Regions from separate parts of the Homo sapiens genome. Here region 1 is linked to region 2. The links are contacts of gene promoters, found by promoter capture Hi-C in blood cells and fetal thymus (Javierre and others, 2016). All regions are on one chromosome and are shown on one strand. Each heading gives the region's core, a stretch centred on a gene start or on the middle of the fragment in contact. The rest is flanking DNA. Distances are from core to core; before and after follow the strand shown. Region 1 holds the start of ARHGAP27 (Rho GTPase activating protein 27). Region 2 holds the start of PLCD3 (phospholipase C delta 3).

Region 1 (2,700 bases), core at 101-2,600, 300 kb after region 2:
CCCGGAGGCGGGGTCATCGAGCTGCCCGGTGCTGAACCAACAAACCCCAAGCAGGACACTCCCCCGGCGCCCCCTCCCCTTGGACCCCGCAGCGCACTCACGTCGGCTGGGCGGGCCTCAGGGAGCCCATGGGCTGGGTGGGCGGAGCCGGCGGTGGCTGCAGGTTAGGCCCCTACCATCGCCCTGGGCGGGGTTTCCAGGGGCGAGGCCGGAGAGGCTGCGCGGAACAGGAGCTGGCAAGCAGAGCGAAGAGGGACAGGGACGCTCAGGAGTGCTGTCACCGATACCCAAAGCAGCCGTGTCTGGGTGGGGCGAGGAGGAGCCTGAATGCCTCTGCTGGGGACCTTGGGGGGCATTGGGACGAGGCCCAGAGCAGAAGGCCGGCACCTGGAGCCGGGACTGCTGCGTCTGAAGGGGCACTGGCAGGTCGCGAGCGGAGCCCAAGGAGGATGGGACCGCCCCCGCTCCGCCTTCCCCCTCTATTCCCCGCCCCCCCACCCCCCACCCCCCGGGATTTGCTGTCCGGGAGTGCCTGCGTCCCTCCTGTGCGCGGCTCTGGGAATGCCGGGCTGGGGCTGGTTGTCTCGTGCGGGCGTTCCTGTTCCCGGGGAGGTCATTTGCACCCTGAATCACCCACTGCGAGCCCTTCCAACCGGATTGCAAATCCGCCCGCTCCGGGCCCACCTCTTCCCTCACCAGGGCCTTTCCCGGAGCAGCCCGGCCGGGCCTGGAAAAACTCCGAGCGGGATTCCCAGCGCAGGGACGCCCACCGGAGCTCGATGTCTCGGGCTGGATAAGAAGGGGACCGGACCTCGGTTCCTTCCCCGACCCTGGGGAAACGCAGAGAAGGGGAGGGATTGGGGAAGCCGGGAGGATCCCTGGAGCGCGACAGCGCACCAGTCGCCAGGAGGTCCCCTGCGTCCACTGCCCAGGCGACTCAAGCTACAGGGGCGTCAACGCCTGGGTCGGCGCTGGGGGCCTGGGCCTGCTTCCCTCCAGCCCCCAGATGGAGGGCAGCCCTTCGCCTACCTTCTCCTCCCCGTGGGATGCGGCCCGCGCAGCTCCCGCCCCAGCGCGGAGACAAGGGGAGCAGGCGCGCGGAGCTCCCGGGTGCGGACCCGCCACCTGCCGCACCCTTCCCTTCCCAACCCTGCCCTTTCCCCACCCCCACCCCACTTCCCACCCCCAACCCCCGCTCGGCGCCCCACTCCCGACCCTGCCTGCCCGGGCACCTCGGGGCGTCCGCTCGCCGGCTTCGCCTCCACTTGCCCCGGCAGGCGCGCGTGGGCTCGGCGTCCCGCGCTCCCTCCTCGACTGTGCGGCTCCCGCGCTGCCGGGTTTCCTGTTCAACAATATAACCAGGGAGGCACCGGCGGAGAGCGCCGGGCAGAACTTCCTCCCGGACTGGGGCTGGGCTGCGGTTGCGAGAGACAATCCCCGGTGTCCTGGCTTCCTGTCCCCTCTGGGCCGGGCCAGCGCCTGAGGAGCGAAGACGCCACCCCCTCCCCTGCCTTTCCCGGGATCCTGGGCCGCACCTGGCTGTCTCCAGGGAGAAAGAGGCTGCGGGGCTGAGATGGTGGGACTGGGGAGGGCGGGAGCCTCCCCCGCAGGTTCGCCTGGCCAGATTGCCCTCCCACCATCCCCCACCCCCTCTTGATCCTTGTGGGGAAGGAGGGCCACCCTCCAATCCGTCCACAGGGTAAGCTCAGAACAACCTCCAGGAGTCCAGCCCCAGGGCCCTCCGCCTTGGGGGTCTTCTGTTGGAGAATTTTCTGCCTCTCTGGACAAGCAGCCTCGCCCTGATCTGAGCCTGCACTCACTCCAGACATTACAAGCCACAGCCCCAGCACACCCCCTGCCCTCAGGGGCCCCAAGGAACAGTTGTGCCTGTGGACCTGGCTGTGTGTGCCAAGAGCTGGCTGATTCAGGCCAGTGTTCTGGGAGGAAGAAGGGCCCGCATCCCAGGCCATGGCCTCTCTTGACACCACCTCCTGGGGACCCAGGGTTGGGTGGGAAGCTGAATCTGGCCACCCAGATTCAGAGGAACTCCCTTACCTCTATATCTTTGTAAGATATAGTAAGTAAGGAACTCCCTTACCTCTATATCTTTGTAAGATATAGTAAGTAAGGAACTCCCTTACCTCTATATCTTTGCCTCTGCTAGGCATTGCCCACCTGTGAGTCCACACTTCCTCTGAGAATCTGTGTGTCTGAGCCTTGGTGGCACCTTGGGACCCTCCAGGGTGGGCACACAGCAGAACTCAGCACTGGTCTTTGGTGCCCGACATGCTTAGAAAATAGTGGCTGGTGCCGGGCACGGTGGCTCACGCCTATAATCCCAGCACTTTGGGAGGCCGAGGCGGGCGGATCATGAGGTCAGGAGATTGAGAAACCCTGGCTAACACGGTGAAACCCCGGCTAACACGGTGAAACCCCGTCTCTACTAAAAATATAAAACATTAGCCGGGCGTGGTGGCGGGAGCCTGTAGTCCCAGCTACTCCGGAGGCTGAGGCAGGAGAATGGTGTGAACCTGGGAGGCGGAGACTGCCGTGAGCCATGATCGTGCCACTGCACTTCAGCCTGGGCGACAGAGCAAGACTCCGTCTCAAAAAACAACAACCAAAAAAGAAAAAAAGAAAATCGTGGCTGGAGGAATCTTCTCTCCCTCCCTACCTTTTAGGTCCCTCTCCACCTGCAGC
Region 2 (2,700 bases), core at 130-2,629:
CAGTAACCAGAGTGCCAGGCACAGCGCCCAGACATAGTCAGCGCTCAGGTGGAATGAGTCGAGGTAACAAGAAGGCAAAACTGGCAATCAGGACCCCTGAATTCTGCCCCAAGTTCTACACGGGGTCCCTGGCAGCCTTGTCCTTCTGTTCCGGAGTTCCACACCTAGCCTCTCCATCACTGACTATTCTACCAATGGCAGGTCCAACGCAGCACTTCAGTGGCGCGGTCCTTTCCACGTCAGACAACATTCTCGCACACACCCTCTCATTCAAGCCCTCCACTGCCCTGCGGGTCCCACTTTTCCCAGACTCTGAGAGGGTACCAGGGCCCATGTGGTGGGGCACCACCGGGGTGCCAGTCACACTTTGCCCTTTGTTGGCTGTGTGGTCATAGGCAAATTCCTTGCCGTCTCTGAGTCAGTTTCCTCACTTGTGAAATGAGGATTCACCTCCCACCTAGGAAGTCGAGGAAGATTGCAAGACACCACCTGTGTAACCCACCCAGTGCCAGCTGCCTCTGTGATGTTCCAATGAGCCACAGTTACATTCCTTCTCCACGACTGACTTCCCCAAATCTGAGGTGAGAGCCTTGGCTGTCGGACGTAGGCTGTTAGACCAGTCCTGCCAGAGCAGTGTGGCTGTGGCCGCCTCTGTGGGGCCGCGGCTTGGAGGGCTGCTGTGGAGGCCAGCCTCTTCTGCGGAGGCCGACCGCAAACTCGCATCCTTCCTAAGGGCTGCCAAGACCCCGAGACACCCTGGCAGAACCTAGATACTGCTGGGGAGCCGGACGAGGGACACCCCAAGCCTCCCTCTCCCGCTCCATTCTCCTTGGAGACCCCACCAGCGCCCCGTGCCCGAATTCGCGCTTCAGACGCCCCGCGAGCGCCCCCTGGTGGGAAGCAAAGAACACCCTGGGCGCCCGGCTCGCCCCGGGACCCTCGGATGACCCCAGGTGCGACCCCCAGCTGGAGGGAGCTGGCCCTCCGCCCCTAGCCATAGCCTCCCAGCCCCGTGCAGCCTGGGGAATCCACGAACTGCTCCCTGGAGCGCCCCAGACTGGGCCTCTGGGAACGGTCCGCGCCCACCCCACCGCCCCTTGCCCGTCACTGACCCATCTTCTTCAGCGCCCGCAGCCCGGGCCTCTTGGTGCCGCCATCGGAGGGAGTCGGCGGGGACGGGAGAGCGACCGGCGCCGCGACTTGGGCTGCGACCTGGGCGGCCACCGGGGGCTCCTCGGGCGGGCGGCGGCAACGCCTCCAGCGGCCGCACAGCATGGCTTGGCGGGGGGCCGGGGCCGGGCCCGGGGTCTGCACGCGGGGACAGGGCAGCGGGGCGCCGCTCTGGCCCGGCCCCGGCTCTGAGCGAGGCGGCGAGCGAAGAAACTTAGCGGCGCGGGAGGGAGTCGGAGGAGGCAGCAGGAGGTGGGGCGGGGCGGGGCGGGAAGGGAAGGGGGCGGGGCCGGGGCGGTGCGAGGGCGGGGCCAGGCGGTGGCCTGGAAGCCCGGAGCCTCAGCGCTCGCCCCTGCTCGTGAGTCCGTCTCCCCTTAGTCCGGGCGAGCCTCTGATCTTGGCCGCAAGGGTGACTAGAGCCCCCATGCTGCGGGGCTGGGGGTGGGAGCCGGCACCGGGGACGAGGGCCATCCTCTGGCACAGACACCCTCTCCTTCCCGGGGGCCCTGACTCGAGGCTGACGCAGGACCCCCTCCTCCTTCCCTTCCGCGTCCCCGTCGCGCCGCAGGCCTCAGCAGGGAACCAGAGCCGGGACAGGACGCAGGGCCGGGAGCGAAGGCAGAACCCCGGGAGCTGAGCCGCTCGGGGCAGCGCGAACCCGAAGGGATGGGCATGGGGGTGGGGAGGTTGGCAGTGACGTCATAGGATTAACCTCCCTGTGCCAGGCCAGGTGCTGCCCCCTCGGAGAGCCACAGTCTCGGAGCTGACGGACCTGGGGAGCGTGAGGCGGAGCCGAGCCTGGAGTCCCCAGCAACTGGTTCTGGGTTCGAGGCTTGGACAGGCCGGCACCCCAGCCCGGCACCCGCGGTGTAGTTGTCCGCGACGTCAACCCGTGGGTGGGCATCCGTGTGCAGGTTCTGGTGGCCGAGTCGGGTGTGCACTTACTATTTATATGCAAGCACCAGAGTGCGTGCGCGAAGTGGGGGACGTCCAGGTGGCAGCGTTTCTGCGGCCGGTGGCCTGGGTCCGGCAGAGACATGGGCGCACACCGCCACTTTGCGGCGGCCAGCGGCGTGGCATCCTACAGAGAGGCTAGTGCTCAGGGCCTGATTTGCCACCTACTTGCCCTGCTCTACCCCATCCTCAGATCTCCCAGGCCCAGAGATTCTGCACACTGGCTTGGGTCCCTACGCCACTCTGGGGTCCTGAATTTTCTTTTTTTTTTTTTTTTTTTTTTTTTTTTTGAGACGGAGTCTCGCTCCGTCGCCCAGGCTGGAGTGCAGTGGCGGGATCTCGGCTCACTGCAAGCTCCGCCTCCCGGGTTCACGCCATTCTCCTGCCTCAGCCTCCCAAGTAGCTGGGACTACAGGCGCCCGCCACTACGCCCGGCTAATTTTTTGTATTTTTAGTAGAGACGGGGTTTCACCGTTTTAGCCGGGATGGTCTCGATCTCCTGACCTCGTGATCCGCCCGCCTCGGCCTCCCAAAGTGCTGGGATTACAGGCGTGAGCCACCGCGCCCGGCCCTGAA

What was found. Contacts are between HindIII fragments. The CHiCAGO score rates a contact against its expected background, and 5 or more counts as called.
Region 1: the fragment with the promoter of ARHGAP27 here is called in contact with the fragment with the promoter of PLCD3 in region 2 in 1 of 17 cell types (neutrophils); the score reaches 5.3 in neutrophils.

What each region holds. Positions count from the first base shown.
Region 1 is chr17:45,431,520-45,434,219 of GRCh38, forward strand. It overlaps ARHGAP27 (Rho GTPase activating protein 27), which reads right to left and starts at 1,351. Exons shown (of 20, transcript NM_001282290.2): 1 at 1,233-1,351; 2 at 697-830; 3 at 102-233. It also overlaps a transcript of PLEKHM1 not described here. The HindIII fragment of the contact is 25,899 bases long and covers 1-2,700 here.
Region 2 is chr17:45,131,136-45,133,835 of GRCh38, forward strand. PLCD3 (phospholipase C delta 3) reads right to left here and starts at 1,380. Exons shown (of 15, transcript NM_133373.5): 1 at 1,113-1,380. The coding sequence starts at 1,275. It also overlaps a transcript of ACBD4 not described here. RefSeq lists silencers at 1,184-1,313, 1,414-1,633 and an enhancer at 2,104-2,173. The HindIII fragment of the contact is 26,016 bases long and covers 1-2,700 here.